Linked DNA regions of Homo sapiens: regions 1, 2, 3, 4, 6 and 7 are each linked to region 5. Evidence: promoter capture Hi-C in 16 types of primary human blood cells and fetal thymus (Javierre and others, 2016). All regions are on one chromosome and are shown on one strand. Each heading gives the region's core, a stretch centred on a gene start or on the middle of the fragment in contact. The rest is flanking DNA. Distances are from core to core; before and after follow the strand shown. Region 1 overlaps PRIM2 (DNA primase subunit 2). Region 2 overlaps PRIM2 (DNA primase subunit 2). Region 3 has its middle 23 kb from the start of PRIM2. Region 4 has its middle 3.5 kb from the start of LINC03001. Region 5 holds the start of DST (dystonin). Region 6 overlaps DST (dystonin). Region 7 overlaps DST (dystonin).

The links. The method cuts DNA at HindIII sites, captures the fragments that hold promoters and counts their contacts. A CHiCAGO score of 5 or more calls a contact.
Region 1: a contact is called between a fragment that was not itself captured here and the fragment with the promoter of DST in region 5, in 4 of 17 cell types (total B cells, total CD4 T cells, activated CD4 T cells and 1 more). The highest score is 6.4, in total B cells.
Region 2: a fragment that was not itself captured here is called in contact with the fragment with the promoter of DST in region 5 in 5 of 17 cell types (erythroblasts, megakaryocytes, naive CD4 T cells and 2 more); the score reaches 12.7 in erythroblasts.
Region 3: a fragment that was not itself captured here is called in contact with the fragment with the promoter of DST in region 5 in 1 of 17 cell types (erythroblasts); the score reaches 5.5 in erythroblasts.
Region 4: a fragment that was not itself captured here is called in contact with the fragment with the promoter of DST in region 5 in 10 of 17 cell types (endothelial precursors, erythroblasts, total CD4 T cells and 7 more); the score reaches 10.2 in endothelial precursors.
Region 6: a contact is called between a fragment that was not itself captured here and the fragment with the promoter of DST in region 5, in 1 of 17 cell types (endothelial precursors). The highest score is 5.6, in endothelial precursors.
Region 7: a fragment that was not itself captured here is called in contact with the fragment with the promoter of DST in region 5 in 1 of 17 cell types (endothelial precursors); the score reaches 5.5 in endothelial precursors.

The regions. Positions count from the first base shown.
Region 1 is chr6:57,407,363-57,410,062 of GRCh38, forward strand. All of the region lies in intron 7 of PRIM2 (DNA primase subunit 2), which reads left to right. Among named protein-coding and RNA genes, the nearest start is that of MIR548U, 19 kb to the left of the region's middle. The HindIII fragment of the contact is 4,227 bases long and covers 1-2,700 here.
Region 2 is chr6:57,327,285-57,329,984 of GRCh38, forward strand. All of the region lies in intron 5 of PRIM2 (DNA primase subunit 2), which reads left to right. Among named protein-coding and RNA genes, the nearest start is that of PRIM2, 11 kb to the left of the region's middle. The HindIII fragment of the contact is 7,570 bases long and covers 1-2,700 here.
Region 3 is chr6:57,293,609-57,296,308 of GRCh38, forward strand. It overlaps a transcript of PRIM2 not described here. Among named protein-coding and RNA genes, the nearest start is that of PRIM2, 23 kb to the right of the region's middle. The HindIII fragment of the contact is 6,847 bases long and covers 1-2,700 here.
Region 4 is chr6:57,265,541-57,268,240 of GRCh38, forward strand. It overlaps a transcript of PRIM2 not described here. Among named protein-coding and RNA genes, the nearest start is that of LINC03001, 3.5 kb to the left of the region's middle. The HindIII fragment of the contact is 432 bases long and covers 1,228-1,659 here.
Region 5 is chr6:56,953,409-56,956,108 of GRCh38, forward strand. DST (dystonin) reads right to left here and starts at 1,422. Exons shown (of 104, transcript NM_001374736.1): 1 at 999-1,422; 2 at 377-411. The coding sequence starts at 1,179. It overlaps BEND6 (BEN domain containing 6), which reads left to right and starts at 1,699. Exons shown (of 7, transcript NM_152731.3): 1 at 1,699-2,052. RefSeq lists an enhancer at 405-1,036 and a silencer at 1,198-1,887. The HindIII fragment of the contact is 5,182 bases long and covers 1-2,700 here.
Region 6 is chr6:56,632,729-56,635,428 of GRCh38, forward strand. It overlaps DST (dystonin), which reads right to left. Exons shown (of 104, transcript NM_001374736.1): 25 at 2,073-2,225; 26 at 1,734-1,888; 27 at 1,404-1,530; 28 at 126-309. Among named protein-coding and RNA genes, the nearest start is that of DST-AS1, 210 kb to the right of the region's middle. The HindIII fragment of the contact is 3,833 bases long and covers 1-2,700 here.
Region 7 is chr6:56,616,450-56,619,149 of GRCh38, forward strand. All of the region lies in intron 36 of DST (dystonin), which reads right to left. Among named protein-coding and RNA genes, the nearest start is that of DST-AS1, 230 kb to the right of the region's middle. The HindIII fragment of the contact is 1,500 bases long and covers 701-2,200 here.

The DNA.
Region 1 (2,700 bases), core at 175-2,674, 450 kb after region 5:
TAATCTGTACTTCTTGTAGATGGCTGAAAAAATGACATACTGAAAGTCACAGATTTTTTTTTTCACTTAAATGGCTTCATTGTTTTATGTTTCCAGTGTGGGTTTTTTTTTTGTGTGTGTGTGAAAGCAAGTTTATTAGGAAAGTAAAGGAATAAAGAATGGCTACTTTATAGGCTGAGCAGCCTCCACTGTTATTTTTTAGCACTTTGCCTAAGGAATTTATTTATCCTTCAAATACGTATCATTTGCATATTGCGGGTTAGGCCTGAGGCGGTACACAGTGGCACACCCACATGGGGTGAAGAGCAGGGAGAAAAAGAGAATTTGAAACTGTGTATTTTCTCCTTCAATTTCATGTGGCATTAAATCATTCTTTTGAGGTCAAGAGCCTCTGAACTGATTAGTTAAAGAATTGGCTTGCTGGATGATGATGGTGGTGGTAGTGGTGGTGAAGGCAGGTTTCTAATTTTTTAATAAGCACATACTGTGTACCAGACACAATTAGATGTATTATATGTGTTCTCAATTTAACCCTGTTGGCAACGTTATGAGATGGTTATTTGCATGAATTTTGCAGAGAGGGAAACTTGGGAAGGTTGGGTAACTTATCCAAGGTCACAGAATTCTAAGCCAATGTACCTGTATCTGTAATTTTTATGCTCGTGATCTTTAATGATGTTACTCTCCCCCTTTGTGGGAAGCAGGCACAAATATTCCTTTTTTTTCCCCACTTTGGATACGTGTTGGTGAGCATAAATGTGCCAATCATTGTGATATGGCTTCGATGAGTGGAAGAACACCAGGGCTCTTGTCTCATGCCCAATTAGATAAGATGACATGGGTGCATGTGGAGTGGTTTTAAGGAGCGGAGAGTTTAATAGGCAAGACAGAAGGGAGAAGAAAGAAGCAAGAAGCGCCCCTTTACAGAGCCAGAGGGAGAGGGGGCTCCAAAGCTGAGAGAAGAGACCCCCAGTGTGGTGGAAACCTGCCAGGTATATGAAGAGGCTGGAGGAGACGGTGTCTGATTTGCATATGGCTCAGGTGATTGGTTTGACCAGGCATGTCATTCACATAGCCACCCACATAATAAATGCATAATAAATGCCATGAGAAAGTAGATTTGTTGGGGGAGTAAATTGACAAATCAGAAGATTTTATTGTGCTTTTGTACAATAAATAGCCTTTAGCATTTAATTTCCTCCCTCCACCCCTGGCCCTGGGCAAACACTCATCTGTTTCTGTCATGATAATTTTGTTTGTTTTAGAATTCCGTGTAAATTGAATCATACACTATGTATTCTTCTGCATTTGGCTTTTGTTGATCTGCATTGTGCTTTCGACATTCATCTATGTTGTTGTTGTTTTTAGAGGTAGGGTCTTACTCTGTCACCCAAACTGGAATGCTGTGGTGAAATCATAGCTCATTGCAACCTTGATCTCCTGGCTCATGGGACCTTCCTGCCTCAACCTCCCAAGTAGCTAGGATTATAGGTGCATACCAGTACACCTGGCTAATTTGTAAAATTTTTTGTAGAGACAGGGTCTCGCTGTGTTTCCCAGACTGGTCTCAAACTCCTCCCATCTCAGCCTCATCTATGTTGTTTCATGTATTGGTAATTCATTCTTCTATTCTTTTATTTTTTTAATTTAAAACATTTTTTCCATTCTTTTTAATTGTTAGGTAGTATTCCATTGTATGAATATACCACAATTTGTTTATCTAGTCCCCAATTCAAATGTCCACTTGATGGACATTTAGATTGTTTCCAGTTCTTGGCTATTATGAATAAAACTGCTGTGAATATTTGGATAAATACTTTTTTTTTTTTTCGAGATGGAGTCTCGCTCTGTCGCCCAGGCTGGAGTACACTAGCACGATCTTGGCTCACTGCAAGCTCTGCCTCTCGGGTTCACGCCATTCTTCTGCCTCGGCCTCCCAAGTAGCTGGGACTACAGGTGCCCACCACCGCACCGGCTAATTTTTTTGTATTTTTAGTAGAGGCAGGGTTTCACCGTGTTAGCCAGGATGGTCTCAATCTCCTGACCTCGTGATCGCCCTCCTTGGCCTCCCAAAGTGCTGGGATTACAGGTGTGAGCCACTGCTCCTGGCCTGGATAAATACTTTTAAGGAGGATTGCTGGGCTGACCAATAAATATGTTTAAAGTATGTTTAACTTTATGAGAAATTGCCAAACTATTTCCAAAGTGGATAGATATGTTCATCTCCAGTAGTGTATGTGTTCCAGTTATTCTACCACCTTGCCAAAAGTTGATATTGTCAGTTTTAAATTTTAATCATTCTAATGGATGTATGATGATATCTCATTGTGCTTTTAATTTCCATATCTTGAATATGTGTGTGTGTTGCAAATATTTTGTCCCAGTCTGTGGTTTGCCTTTTGTTTTAACAATGTCTTTTGAAGAGCAACAAAGTTTTACAATTTGATTCAGTCTATTTTATCAGTTTCTTTCTTTTATGGTTTACTTTTATTAAGAAGTATTCAACTGACCCAAGAGCATGAAGAATTTTTCCTGTATTATCTTTTTGAAATTTTATAGTTTTAGCTCTTGTATTTAACTCTATGACCCATGTTTTGGTTAGGTTTTAGACATGTTGATTTTTTTTTCCTTGTTGGTTTCCTTGTTGGTTTTGGCACTATTAGTAGAAAAGACTGGGCCGGGCCAGTGGCTCACGCCTGT
Region 2 (2,700 bases), core at 89-2,588, 370 kb after region 5:
GGTAGTAGGACTGGCAGAGACTCTATTTTGTTGTTGGAATGCGTGGCTTAAAGCCAAATAAAATAAAAAAGTAGAAGTTGCAATAGGTGAAAGACATTGTCCTGTCTGACAAGTAGAAGACATATCCACTGTAGCAAGGAACACTATGGAGTATATGAGTTAGGGAAAAGAGACTGTGAAGGGAAGTGAACAAACATTTTGTAGACGTTTAGTGTCAAATATATGCTAGGTAGGCAGTTTCTATAGTTTCTTTCATTTACTTCATGAGGTTTCTAAGTCACATCTACCTTTGCATAGACAGATGTCATGCATGGTACCATCTGAACCAAACCCACTGCATCTTCCACTTTGCTTTTAACTTTGATCCTTGGTGAAGTCCATTATTGCAATTATCAATTACAGTTAATTTATCCATTCCTATTAGAAATAGTTTATTTTTTGCTTTTGTTGAAATTACTGATTTTTAGTAGGTCATAGAGAGAGGTGTCCTTGAGAAGGTCTATTATTTATTCTAGGGCAGCCATCTCCAACCTTTTTGGCACCAGGGACTGGTTTCATGGAAGACAATTTTTCCACGGACTGAGGTCGGGGGATGGGGAGGGGTGTGGATGGTTTTGGGATGAACAGATCCACCTCAGATCATCAGTCATTAGATTATCATAAGGAGTGCACATCTTAGATCTCTCACATGTGCAGTTCATAATAGGGTTCGCACTCCTATAAGAATCTAATGCCTCCACTAATCTGACAGGAAGTGGAGTTCAGGTGGTAATGCTCGCTCACTGCTCACCTCCTGTGCAGCCTGGTTCCTAATGGGCCATGTGCTGGTGCTGGTATTGTGGCCTGAGAGTTGGAGACCCCAGTTGTAGAGTGTCTCAGCGTCACATATACTTTTTTAAATAATAGATTTATTGAGCTAGAATTCACAAATCTTGACATGCACCCTTTTACAATGTATAATTCATTGGTTTTTAGTGTAATTACAGATTGTGCAATCAACACTACTATGTAATTTTAGAACATTTTCACCTAAAAATGAAACCTCTTACCCATTTATGGTCATTCCCTATTCTTCCTCTCCCAACCCTTGGCAACCACTAACCTGCTTTCTGTCTCTGGATTTGTCTATTCTGAACATTTCATATAAATGGAGTCATACAATATGTGGTCCCTTGTGGTTGACTTCTTTTACTTAGCATAATATTTTCAAGTTTCATCTGTGCTGTAGAATGTATCAGTATTAATTTTTTAATTGCCAAATAATATTTTACCTGTTCAGCATTCGAGGGACATTTGGATGGTTTCCATATTTTGGCTATTATGAATAACGCTACAGTGAATATTTGTGTCCAGGTTTTTGTGTGAATATGTTTTCCTTTCTCTCAGGTGTATACCTAGGAGTAGAATTGCTAGGTCATAGGGTGATTCTGTGTTTAAACTTTTGAGGAGCTATCAAAATGTTTTCCAAAGTGGCTGTATCATTATATATCTTACCAGCAGTGGATGAGGGTTCCACTTTCTCCATATCCTCACCAAAAATTGTTACCTTTTAAAAAAATATAGCCATCATAGTGAGTATGAAGTGGTATGTAATTGTGGTTTTGATTTGCATTTCTAATGAAGCTGAATATCTTTTCATATGCTTATTGGTCATTTGTATATCATCTGTGAAGAGATGTCTGTTCAAATCCTTTGCCTGTTTTGTAGTTGAATTGTTTGGCTTTTTATTGTTGAGTGTTCTTTACATATTCTGGATACAAGTCCATTATCAGATATATGATTTACAAATATTTTCCCCCACTCTGAAGGTTGTCTTTTCTTGATGGTATTGTTTGCAACAAAAAGGTTTTTTTTTTTCAGATGAAGTCTAATTTATCTTTTTTTCTTGTCACTTGTGCTTTTGGTATTGAGTCTAAGAAGTCTTTGTCTAATGTGAGGTCATAAAGATTTACTCCTACAGTTTTTTCTGTAAGAGTTTTGTAGTTTTAGCTCTTACGTTTATATCTGTGGTTCATTTTGTGTTAATTTCTATACACGGTGTGAAGTAAGGGTCCAACTTCATTCTTTTGCATGTAGATATCTAGTTGTCCCAGCATCATTTGTTGAAATAACCATTCTTTCCTCATTGAATTGTCTTGGCACACTTGTCAAGTCAGTTGACTGTTGATATGGTTTGATTGTGTCCCCACCCAAATCTCATCTTGAATTGTAGTTCCCATAATCCCCACGTGTCATGGAAAGGACTTGGTGGGAGGTAACTGAATCATGGGGGCAATCTCCCCCATGGTAGTCTCATGATAATAAGTTCTCACTAGATCTGATGGTTTTATAAGGGGCCTCCCCCTTTGCTTGGTTCTCATTCCCTCCCCTGCCGCCCTGTGAAGAGGTGCCATCTGCCATGATTGTAAGTTTCCTGAGGCCTCCCCAGACACGCAGAGGGCTCAGGATTAAACCTCTTTCCTTTATAAATTACCCAGTCTCAGGCAGTTCTTTACAGCAGCGTGAGAACAGACTAATACAACTGTAAATGTAAACATTTATTTCAGTACTCTTAATTTTATTCCATTGATCTGTCTGCTTATCCTTATGTCAGTAGTATGTGGTCTTGATTATTGGTTACTGTGGCTTTATTGTTAAGATTTAAAATTGAGAAGTATGAGTTCTCCAGCTTTGTTCTTTTTTAAGATTGTTTTGGCTGCT
Region 3 (2,700 bases), core at 201-2,700, 340 kb after region 5:
GGATTAAGAAAATGTGGCACATATACACCATGGAATACTATGCAGCCATAAAAAGGGATGAGTTCATGTCCTTTGCAGCGACATGGGTGAAGCTGGAAACCATCATTCTCAGCAAACTATCAAAAGGACAGAAAACCTAACACTGCATGTTCCCAGTCATAGGTGGGAATTGGACAATGAGAACAAATGGACACAGGGTGGGGAATGTCACACACTGGGGCCTGTTGGGGGGTGGGGGTCTGGGGGAGGGATATGTAAATGACAAGCTGATGGGTGCAGCAAACCAACATGGCACATGTATACCTATTTAACAAACCTGCATGTTGTGCACATGCACCCTACAACTTAAAAGTATAATTTAAAAAAAAGAAAAAAGGTATTCCTTGCAATGTAGTTTGTGATAATGAAAATCTAGACATAGTTTAATGTCTTATAATTAGAAATTAGTTAAATATATTATGGTATAGTCATGCAATGGAATACTATGGAACTATAAAAAATGATGATGTAGTGCTGTATTTATTGATATTGCAGGAGGTCCACAATATGTCATGAAATGAACAAAAGTAGATTCCAAACACTTTATATAGGCCAGGCGTGGTGGCTCATGCCTGTATTCTCAGCACTTTGGGAGGCGTAGGTGGGTGGATCACATGAGGCCAGGAGTTTGAGACCAGCCTGGCCAACATGGTGAAACCCCATCTCTACTAAAAATACAAAAAATTAGCCGGGTGTGATGGTACACACCTGTAATCCCAGCTACTCAGAAGGTTAAGGCAGGAGAATCGCTTGAACCCAGGAGGTGGAGGTTGCAGTGAGCCGAGATCGTGCTACTGCACTCCAGCCTGGGCAACAGAGCGAGACTCCGTCTGCAAAAAAATAAGAAAACCCAAAACCAAACCAAAACAGAACAAAAGCAGTATATATAGTATGATTACAAGTGCATGTATATATTTATACATAAATTTATGTATAAGTATGTGTATATATGTATTTAAATAAGTATATGTATAAATATATACATATATAACATATGTGTATGTATATTTATTTAAGCACATATATAAATGTATACATACACATATAAATATACTTTAAGCATTTATGTATATTGATTGAAAAAAGTACATGGAGAAAAATACAAAAGTGTTCATGGTAGTTATTTTTAAGTGATATAATATTGCCATTTTTTACTCATTTTATGACTTTTTTTTTTTTTGAGACACAGTCTCACTCTGTCACCCAGTCTGGAGTGCAGTGGCACGATCTCAGCTCATTGCAACCTCCACCTCCCGGATTTCAAGCAGTTCTCCTGCCTCAGCCTCCCCAGTAGCTGGGACTACAGGCGTGCTGCCATGCCTAACTAATTTTTGTATTTTTAGCAGAGAAGGGGTTTCATCATGTTGGCCAGGCTTGTCTCCAACTTCTGACTTCAGCATCCCAAAATGCTGGAATTACAGGCGTTAGCCACCACGCCCAGCTGTACTTTGTAACATTTTTGATACCAACTTTATTTTTCATAATAAGGATATGTTACTTCTAGAATCAGAAGAAGAAACCTCTTTGTTTTAAAAAACTTCACCCAAAAAGTCATCCATTCAAGAGTTGTTTTTCTCCACCCCAGCTGACGTGACAAAATGCTGCCAACAATTTTGATGCCAATAATGACTTCTACATATTAAATACTTCTACATACTGACAAAAAATTATCTCTTAACAGCATGAATTGAATTTTATAAAAAAAAAAATTTGATTGGGAATATCTGCTCCAGTACTTAGAGGTTTAACTAGTAGCAAACCACTGGTTTATTTTGGAGTGAATCAATCTACATTGATTCTATGGAAAGAGTCCTAAATCTCTCTCCTGTCAAAGGAAATATTTGGCATGAAAAAAGGCAGCTTGTATATTTGCTTGACAGCATGTTGTGGTTTAATGAATTAGAACCATAATTTTTAGCTTTGTTCTTAAAAACAGACTGATTTTAGAGAAATAGAAATAAAATGTATGGAGGTGATAGAAAATACAAATTTCCCAGGTACTAAAGGAGGGCCTGTTTTACTCCTTGTTTTAAATCCCTCCTGAGTGCCAAATCTTAACTACCAATTGCCTGATGCTTATCTCCACATGAACAGCTACACAGGCACCTTAACTCATTTACAAAATTGAATGTGTCATCTTCTTCCTACAAATCTTCCATTTCTTCCTCAGTTCTACAACATATATCTAAGAGCAAAAACCATCCTTCCCAACACCCGGATTAAAATAACCTCTAAGTCTGGATGAAAAGAATGGAGGGATGGGAATAGGATAGAAGGGATGAGGGGGGAATGGCATTTTTGTGACTTTTATAACCATAGTCACAACCATTTTGTGACATTTATAACCATATCAATGTTTCATACATTCAATAAATAAAACCAACAGGATGGGTGGGGAGAGGGGACCTGAAATGGAATACTAACTATAACAAATGAACCTAACCATATTACGAATGAATAACAACCGCACTGAAGGGTGTGGAGAAGAAAAAGAACAAATCTCAATAACTCTGGAAAATAATATTTTCACTACATGCTGTATGGCTAAAAGACAAAAAGCTGTGCACAAATAGAAATGCACATGACTAAAACTGTATACAAAGAATTATATACAAATATTGTACTTTAGCTAGTAAGTTTATTTTTCACAGGGGTATGAAA
Region 4 (2,700 bases), core at 194-2,693, 310 kb after region 5:
AATAGAACACACTTAGGCATGTAGACTTTGACAATTCTAGGGAAAAGTTGTGAATGCATTTAGTGATTTGATTTGTGTGTTTTAGTTTAAGTAATCTATCAATTTATCCTATAGATAGCCCAGAAATTGATGTCACTGCAATTAAACAGAATTTTTTTATAAAGAATTCTGTGCCTGACAACTCTAGACATATTTATTATGCAGCTTCTCTTAAAGGATTTTCAATTTGCTCATTTGGAGCAAATTTTGTGTGTTAAATGCAGTTGGTTCCTAGACACTGACTCATTTTCCAAATCTGAGTACACTTTTTCCTCAATTGACTTTCCCCTGCCAGTATGTCATCCAACTATTCTTTAATGTACTGTCAAAATATGGTCACCTCATCATTAACAGGAAATGGGCTTCTTGCCCAGTCTTATGAAAGTAGAATAAAATCAGACAGTTTGATTTTTAAACTATAAGAAAAGGAGAATGAAAAAACAGCAAAACTTAACTAATTTCCAAGCTCAGGGCTATTTATAAAGAGCTTGAACAAATAAGACACCCAGAAACGAAAGGAAAACTGCAATTTGCTTGGCTTTGTGTAGAATACAGAAGAATTTCCATTTTACTCTAAATATAAAGTAGCTGCAATGTGAGTCAACATAAATAAAACAAAGAAACCAAGTCTTTATGGAAGATGACAGCAGTTTCATGTGGGCAGCTTCATGTGTTTAAGCATCTCAATGTGAAAACTTGGCCATTTGCTCAAGATTGTTTCTCTGTATTTAGATTTTTGGTGCAAATATCATCTCTGTCTCTAGGAAACAAACCCAGACGGCCTACAGAGTCAAGAATGAAGAATTCATTTTACTGAAATGTTAATGTCAACTCTAAAAATATCAGAGTTTTCAATTTTACCTAATCAAATAATCAGCTCGACAATTTTTTTGCAACCACAGTTGCTTATAGGGCTGACCAAAGTGACGATTTGTTTAAGACCAAGTTCAAGGTTAGTTAAACATATAACATATAGCGCAGATTTCATTTAACCATGTGGATAATTCAGCCAAATATGTTTTTCATGAATTGCTGTGAAAAAGAGTAATTTGCCGCATTTGAATTATCTGATTACCTGTCCTGATCTTCTACTTCACTTTGAGTGTATATGTAGACTTTATTAGAATAACATTTTGTAGTGTAAAAATAGTCTATGTCGCCACAGCTTCTCTCTACTTGCTAGTTCAAAGCTTTCTCTTTAATTTTTGATCAGTGCCAATTTGGAACCGATCTCTTTTAGCTCAGTTTCCTCATTTGTGGAGTGGGTATCTTAACGTCCAAAATAATAAATGATTAAAAATAGTTAAAAAAAGTTAAAAATAAATGATTAGTGGAATGATGAAAAGTACTTCACACAGAATCCAGCATATAGTGAATGCTCAATGAATTTTAACTATTTTGACTTTTACTGTTAAAGATGTGACGTGGGAAGTCATTAAACCTTTTGTAGCTTAGTTCTTTAGGTATGAAAGACAAATGTCTTGATATAAGTCTAAAAATGTTCTTAAAATGCATGCAGTGCCTCCACATGCAAAGTGAAGCACAGAATTTAAGTAATTACCTTCATTAATTAATCAATGCATTGCTTTACCTAATAGGTTGATACATGTTTTAGAGCAAAGCTTGATGCACAAAGGTCCACTTTGCTTGGATATTAGTTTTATTGTCATTTTGCCATTTTTTTGGTATTCATTATCTACTGTGATGGGACAAGAATTTGGGTGAAAGTAGTTTACTTGGGAGGTGATCCCAGGAGGCATGATCAGGGAGTGGGCAAGTAAGACTGGCAAAAGAGGAACACCATTAAAGGATACATTGAGAAGCGGGTTACTGTCTTGGGCAAGTGAGCTCAATCCCAGTGGCATCTCTTTGAGAGGCTGCATAAAACCTTTGAGCAACCTCATCCATTTAGTCCAGCACTGTACTAATATTATCACTTTCTACGAGCAATACCACATGAAAAAATTTGGGGAGCATTGCTATAAAGAATGGTTGAGAGTGCTGAAGAGAAGCCAGGAAAATAAAAAGCAGAATAAATAAGAATGGTTGACATGCACGGTGGCTCACACTTGTAATTCCAGCACTTTGGGAGGCGGAGGCGGGAGGATCACTTGAGGCCAGGAGTTAAAGACCAGCCTGGGCAACATTGCGACACCCCATCTCTACAAAAAAATTTTAAAATTAGCTAGGCATGGTGGCACATGCTGGTCTCGAAAACCTGGCCTCAAATGACCCTCCCGCCTTGGCCTCCCAAAGTGCTGGGATTACAAGGGTGAGCCACCGTCCTGGCCTGGTTACATTTAACTATGTTGCAGAGAAGATCGTGGATTCATTCAAAATGAAATCATTGTTGCTGGGTTCTTGTAAAAGTAAGGTTGTTGAGCTATGGGCATTGAGCATATGAGAACAGAAACATAATCCTTTTAATCTACTCAGCATTTTGCAGGCTTCAGAGGAATAATGGCTGTTGTTTCTGGCTTTGCAGTTCAAGTGAGATGGATTTAGAAGAGCTCCAAGCACATTCCTAAAGTATTAGGTGGTTGGAAGGTTCTATGAGTTACGTAGTTGTTACTTCAGTCTCCAGCGGAAGGGAGGAGACATGTCTTCCTAGTCATATTCCTCCTTGGTCTCAAAAAACCACATTTTGTTCCCTTCAAGTCA
Region 5 (2,700 bases), core at 172-2,671:
TGCACTAACCTCTTCGTTTATCCAAGTGAACAACCAGAGTCAACTGACAGCACCCAGAAAACACTTCCACCAGCAAAATATAAACTGTAAACTCAAGTGACATCCACCCTGTGGCTAAGTTTTTTAAGGTCTGCAGCACTTTTAGGGTTTGCCTTTTCCCCTCTTGTACAACAGCTCCACTACACAAGAAATTTGCTAAAACCGTTCGCTGGGCACTAATATGAAATCACTTAAAAGGAAACATGCCACTTTCGGCTAGGGGACAGCATGTTCGTCATTCAGTGTCCTACTGGTTTCTTAACACGCATATAATTAATATTGGTACTCAGGAAAGAGAACTTCTTCTGACCTTGAGCGTGCGCGCTAAATAAATTACCTCAGAACGAAAGTGGTGCGATCTCAAAACAGCATCTGGGGAGAAAAGAGATAAATGAGACTTCATTTAACTCCTTGTTCTTCACCTACCGAGTGACTCATGACTTACCTGGGAGACCAGGGTTGGGAAAGCACATCGCAGACTCCTGGAATTCGGTGGGACATCCTGGGGGAGGGAGGAGGAGTCCTGGGGCCATCGGTCTCTACGTGATTTCTCCGCGAGAAGTTTGCATGAAAGTTCTGGGGGAGTTGGGGAGCCCCGAAGTTTCCATGCCTTACTTTCTTACCCCTACGCTCCAGCGAAGGATGCGTGAAGGCGAGGCTGGCGCAGCCCCGGACTACGCTCAAATTACCCTTAAGGCTTTAGCAAACTGACTAAAAATTTGAGTTCTTTCCTCCCCTCCCTGCCCTCGGCATCGCCGTGGTTATTCAAACCTGGGAGACTGGAGGGCGGAGGTGACGGCAAAAAGGGCAAGGGGCGTTAAAGAAACGCACTCAGCCTGGGGAGTGGGCAATGATGGGGCTAGGGGCAGCCGAGGAGAAGGGAGCGAGCCGCGCTTCACTCTCCAAATCGGCTTAATTGTTCCTGGTAGCCCGCAGAAACCCGTCGCGGCGTGTCTTACCTCGGCTTCTTGAACGACCCGAGAAGACCGATTTCATCGGATGCCTCCCTTTCTGGAGCTTGCGGTGCCAGCAGCAGAAGAAGACGATGGTGGCGATGGTGCCCAGCAGAAGCAACAAGAGGAAGAGGGCACATTGGATGCTGTAGGGTCTCAGCAAGACGAGGAAAGCCGCGGCGATCATGGTGCGGGCGAGGCGAGGGCGACTCGACGGCGGGGCTGGAGGGCGGCGGCACAGGCACCCGCGCTGGGCGCACGCCGGGACGGCGGGCACGGGTGAGCGCGGCTCAGCGCGTCATGCCTGGCGCTCGCGGCCCCGCGCCCAGCCCAATGGCTGCGCACCCCGCGCCAGCCGCGCTACGCGAGTGATCCAGGGCTGCGGGGAGCGCTTGCCATGACTCAGCAGACAGCGACGAGGCTGCGACTCGGCGGCTGGGATCCTCTCCCCTCCCTCCCCAGGCGCCCCCGCCCCCGTCCGTGCGCAGCCCCCGGGCGCAGCCCCGCCGGGGACGCGGCGAGTGGGGAGGAGCAGCGCCGCCGCCGCGGCCGCCCGGGCCCCGCGCATCGTCCTGCGGCCGCCGCCGACCTCAGCATCCCAGAAGCCGGGCGCACGTGGGTCGGGGCGGGGACGCGGCGCTCAGGCTGCAGCCGCGGCAGCCTGCGGGGGGCGGGAATGGGGCGCCGCGGCGGGGGCTCGGCTGATGACATCACGGCCAGGCTGCGGCAGCGCGGGCGCGCGGACATGGCTGCGGCGGTTTCGGCGGCGTCCGCGGGCTGCACCCGGGCCTGAGAGCCCAGCGCCCTCCCGCGGGGCCGCCCGCCAGTCCGCGCCGTCCGCGGGTGCATTGGCCGGGTGCCTCTAGCTTCCCGGACACCCGGAGCTTCCGCCTATCCAGCCTCCCTCGGCCAAATTGCTGCGGAGCCCGTCGTCAGGGGGCGCCAAGGAGCCAGGGGGAAAACCGAGAGGCGCTGACAGGAGCCTCCCGGCGGTGCTACCCTCCACCTCCCACCTCCCTGCGCCCCGCCCCGAGGTTGGGGCTTTGAAGAATGCAGCCGGGTGAGCTATTGCTTGTGGGGGTTTCCTCGCACTCTGAAGCGCGAGCGCCGGGAAGGGCCTTCCCTGGGAATTGGGATACTCCAGGAACGGGAGGCCCACTCCTCTCCAAGCCTCTCTAAACTAGGAGCGCTCCGGGGTAGTACGCTCTGGTCGGCAGAGGTGAACTCTTCCACCCCAAACTTGGTGCTTATCTCGCAGCTAAGAATTGGGCACTTTCGATCTTCTTGTATCCCTGGGTTTGCCCTAAAACCCTGACTCATTTAGTGCATTTGAAGGGCAAGGCGATTTCAGATTTAGGGACCTGGCAGATGAAGTAAGTTGGTACTTGGCTTATAAACATTTGGGGGAGAAATTTTTTAGGGAGTGTGAGGCAATAGTGATCTCTCACACTTGCAGGCACACTCTGTCTCCCCTTTGTCCCCTCCCCACGTTTCTTCATAACCAGCAAAAAGTATATGGCAGTTGGTGGCCAGGGGATTTAACACTGATGCAATGCCAGCACGGAAGGTATAGCGAGAGCGCTGCAGTGTGCCTTTCTGCGGACGGCCACGGCCACCTGGCCAGGAAGCGGCTGCTGCAGCAGTCATTCTGCGGCATCTTGCGGCCTTGGCGGGCGGTGCTGTGCCGCGTTCTGCTGCCCCCAAGGCA
Region 6 (2,700 bases), core at 28-2,527, 320 kb before region 5:
ATTGTGTCTACATATCATAGGCTGGGTGATACAATATACCTAAGATTGAGATTCCCATTGAGAGCAAAAAATAGCCAGAACTAAACACCTATGGGGAAAAAAAGACAGGGATCCCCATGCTTTACCTCTTTCTGCAGATTTAAGAAGTTCTTGATAATACTGCTTACATACATTAACCTCCTTTTCCAGTTGTGTTATATCTGAGCCTGAAAAGACTTGGGATTCCTGGCTATCTTCCAGAAAATCTTCAAAACGAGATTGTAGATTACTTAGAACTTGCTGATGTTCACCAGGTAGCATTGTCTTTATCTAAAGAAGACCAAAGACCCATGTAATTCATTCTATTACTCATAGATTTGAATGGGAGACACTTCAAACTGGTCGTGTGGTATATGCCAATCTAAACGAATAATCATAAATAGGAACATTTGAAATTAACTGTCTTTTTCATTAACAATTTTAGGTGGTTTTTTTTTGTTTTTTGTTTTGAGACGGAGTTTCACTCTTTTTTTTTTTGAGACGGAGTCTCGCTCTGTCGCCCAGGCTGGAGTGCAGTGGCGGGATCTCGGCTCACTGCAAGCTCCGCCTCCCGGGTTCACGCCATTCTCCTGCCTCAGCCTCCCAAGTAGCTGGGACTACAGGCGCCTGCCACTACGCCCGGCTAATTTTTTGTATTTTTAGTAGAGACGGGGTTTCACCGTTTTAGCCGGGATGGTCTCGATCTCCTGACCTCGTGATCCGCCCGCCTCGGCCTCCCAAAGTGCTGGGATTACAGGTGTGAGCCACCGCGCCCGGCCGAGACGGAGTTTCACTCTTATTGCCCAGGCTGGAGCGCGATCTCAGCTCACTGCAACCTCTGCCCCCCAGGTCCAAGCAATTCTCCTGCCTCAGCCTCCCGAGTAGCTAAGATTACAGGCATGCACCACCACACCTGGCTAGTTTTGTATTTTTAGTAGAGACAGGGTTTCTCCACGTTGGTCAGGCTGGTCTCGAACTCCAGACCTCTTAGGTGATCCACCTGCCTCGGCCTCCCAAAGTCCTGGGATTACAGGCGTGAGCCACCGCGCCCAGCCAACAATTTTAGGTTTTAACGACAAAGAAAAACAAGTCTACGAAACTCAAATGAAATCAACTGTACCCATCATCGTATATCCAACAACTACATTCTGCCTCCCTATCTCACAGTAAGTTCTGAATGAAATTTGTGATCTCCAGATTTCCTCAGTTCTTAAAAAGTGCCTTATATGCTATGGGCATATAACAAATATTCATTGAATAAATGAATATTAGCATGGATTTGCCGGACTCCATCCTATTCTAAAGCAAATACAAACTCTACGACACATATGAAAAGGCATGCACATTTTTGGACATATCGAGTTGACATACAGATTCATACTTACTGAAGCCACATTGCTAGCTCGAATTCTATCAATTTCATTGATGAGATAATGCCAGGATACTACACTCTTCATGTTTATGTGAGACTCATGCCAAAGAGTCAGGACATTCTGATACTGTTGCTCAATTCTGAAATACATGAAAGAGAACTCAGATTAATGTTTTTACTCCCTCTGAAAACACACTGCAATTTTTCTTTTTGTGTGAAATATTCCACGGATGAGTTCTAGAGACTTTTGATCCTGTGGGGCCTTGACAAAGTATTGATTGTTCCTTCAACCTTCAGAGGGCCCCCAAAACTAGCTCAACATTTTTAGCTAATATATACAAACCTGTTGGCAAGGTCCACCGCTTCTTTGTTTGGTGGAGGAACGGTGAAGCACACAGATGGGACCATAGCCTCATTCCCAGTAGGACTAATGACCTTCCATTTAGCACGATGAGAGTTATTCGCCAAAACACATTCATCGTCTTTGTAAATGGTTATCTGGTTTAAAATAAAGAGCAGAATAACTCAATGAGGTCACTGTTAACTGTTTTCCATACTCAATCCTGGGATTTTTTTTGTTTTATGAGGCGGGAAATCTTGATCACTAGTTAGCAATATGATCTCATTTACAAAATATATGAATAATGACAGAAACTGGTCTGTTTCTAGGAGTTACAAGTACCTCAATTTGTCTGTAGTCACAGATAGCTTTGATCGGAATAGAAGTTTTGAGTGGACAGTCAGAATTCCTTGGCTTCAGTTGAATTATTGTTTTTGCTTTTCCCATTAGGTTTGCTATAGTGCTTTTGTACTGCAGAAGTTCTTCTTTCTCTTCCTAAGTAATAAATACAGTGAATTTTAAGAAGTAAAAGACTTGTACTCTCCATGCCTTCAGCACTTTACACAAATTAAACTTCATCAGAAAAGTCTTCTCTCTGACTACCTAGTCTAAATTTTCAATCTTTCCTCCTCCACCCCATCTTGTATCCCTCTTCCTTTCTTTGGTTTGTTTGGTTTTCTTTTTCCTCTTTGGCATTTACACTACCTAACATACTATACAAATTTTACTTATTTATTCTGTTTATTGTCTAACTCCCTCTCTAGCATGTAAGCACCACAAAGGTAGAGATTCTTGTCTGCTTTGTTCACTGCTGTAGCTCTAGAACCTAAAACAGTGCCCAGGATATATTAAGAACTTAAAAAGTATTTGCAAAATGAATAACTAAACACACACGTGCACACACACACACACGACACTAAAAACCATCTTAAAATATCAAAGCTATCACATTAAAAAAACACTTCTGTTG
Region 7 (2,700 bases), core at 201-2,700, 340 kb before region 5:
AATTCTATGTGTTTTCTTGACATTGAGATTGGAAATGTTCCTCTCCCCAAATGGAAACAGAAAGCATTGGGACTCTACATCAAATACACACATTCGCAGTAATTCTGAGTAATACAGAGCTTGCTTGTTATTGGGATTAGGGAAAACTCTTGTGTTGCTGGATGGCTCATGTAAAAACTGTAAGATGGCATTATTCAACAACCCCTGCTGCAGAGCAATTTCTGGAGGAACACGAATGCCTCTCACAGGGTCAATGACACCCCCACTGGCAATCTGGGCTTCCAAGATATGTTTACCTTTTTGTCTGTCAAGCATTCTATTTTCCATAGCTTGAAACACTGACAATGTCTTAGAAGAATAAGAATATCCCACAGCTGCCTTCTCTGCCTCAAGAAGCCTAATTCTGAATTCGGGGTCAACAACTCCTTTAAGAACTGCATCTTCAACAGAATATGTCTGACCTGAAATGGGATCAATTATAAAACCTGTTGCAGCCTGAGCTTCTAAAAATGCCAAAGCCACCATTTTGTCTATTATGATTCTCTCGGCCGCTGAGGCAAATGAAATCTTTTCTTTTGTAGATTCTAGGTAAAGCCCTGCAATTGAGGTGGCTTTCGTCAGAAACTTGTTAAGAGTTTTCTGAACTTCTTCAACAGTCTTAAGACCGAGTCGCAGCTGCTCAATTGTTCTCATGTCCAGAAGCTTAGCTTCCACCAACTGCCTGGCAGTCACAGTGTGCCTAAGCCCTTGGAATTTAAATTCATCATCCCTGACTGAACATGCATGATCACCATCAAAGTTCTGGAAGGTCTCTGGTTCTAAGCCCTTCTTAAGGAAATCCCCTTTCTTGAGTCCACCAGATGCTCTGCACCCTTCAAGCATCCATTCTTCAGCACTGGGAACTGGGTTCTTTTCTTGTTTTAATGTTGTGACTTCTGTATGCATATCATACTGCTTGTTCTTAGCTATCTGTAACAGGAATTTATAAAATGTTAAAAGTCACCTCAAGAACATTATGTCACTTTATCCATTCTCAATCCAAACATAATTCTTTGAATTACAAAGACAAGATTAGTGAAAAGAAGAAAAATTTCAAACCAAGGAGGGTTCAGGAATAAGTATTATATTATTTTCAGAGTCTGAATTTTATCTTAGATGACAATTAAAGGTATTAAAATTATATCTTTAAAAAAGACTAAGACAAAGTCTAGCCACAGAATATGTTAGAAGTTAAAGCTAACTGCTTGGTTCTTCTAGCTTTTTTGATACTCACATTTTTCAGAATGTATCTCCACAGATATAACAGTATATCTATTACATCTGTATGTTTAATCTCAAACATTCAAAAATTAAAGTTAATTTATGATAAAGATTCAAGTAAGTTACCAGAAAGAGTATAGCATTATTTTCCTGTCAGAACTACAATGAGCCAATCACATTCAAAATTGTTTTAAAAATTTAGTCTAGGAGAGAAAGGAAACAAATGAGGAAACTTGACATTAGGTAGCTGATAAGGTCTCAGAACACAGAGTATACCTCTAAGGGTGTCAAAACCTTCACCAGTTCCATTTCACATGCGTTATCTTGATACCTAACAGGTGGTCTAGAATTGTTCAGGGCTTGGTCTCTTATCTTCTCAATTTCAGACAGTCTTGTAATGGGGTTTGTCTCATCAAAAGTTATCTGTAACTCGGTGCTTGTCTGAGAAAAGTACTCAGAGTAACACTGCTGGCTTTTCTCTTTCTCGAGTGGAGCCCCTGGTGGCTGGAATTGGACTTCTTTGGGTATCTGTTCAACAACCCGATGCTGCCACTTCTCTTCCAATGGCTGTGGTTCTTGAGTCCATCTCAACAGAGGGGATCTGGGTGTTGGGTGAAGGTGTCCAGTGTTTCTAGAGGACAGCTCTCCAGAGTGCTGGCACTCCTTCACTGTCATCTCAAAATCTGGTTTGAAGGTACAGTCTTTGGCTGTGCTCTTTTTTTGAATTTCACACTGGAGCAAAACTAATTGATGTTCATGCTCTTTGATCTGTTGGTCCATTTTTTGCTTCAGGTTTTCAACCTCACGCTTCTGGGCTATCAGCTCATCCTCAAGTTTCTGACATTTTTGGTAATGATTTGCTTCCATGTGCTGCCCTTGCTGCATTTGTTCACGATACTGTTGAAGCTGTCTTTCAAGTTCTTTAATGTTTGTTTCACAAAGCTTAGCATTTTCTTGGGCTCTAGAGTTTTCTTGTTGAAGAGACACAAAGTCAAGCCTAATGCCTGAAATATCATTTTCAGTGATGACTTTGGACTCCATTAATTTTTCCATCTTCTTCCGAAACTCCTCTGCTGATTGTTTGAATTTACCAGATTCTTCCTGAAACAGAACCATCTTTCTGTGGGTCATCTGCTCCTCTATGGTCTTTAAGTGTAATTCGTCTTGTACTTTTTTCAACCTGTTATTTAACTCTTGCACCTGAGCTTGTTGTAGCTGAACTTTCTGCTCCCCGCGTCGCTTCTCTTCTTTGGAAGCATTCAGTTCCGCATTCAGATTTCTAACTTCTTTCTTGGTATTCTGGATGATAATGTTCTGTTGGTCACACTTTTGCTTAAATTCACTTACCAAATTTTGACTTTTCGCCAGGTCTTCTTCTAGGCATTTAATTTTTCTTTGAAAATCCTGCTCTGTTTTTGTCTGTTTATGCAAGTGTTCATT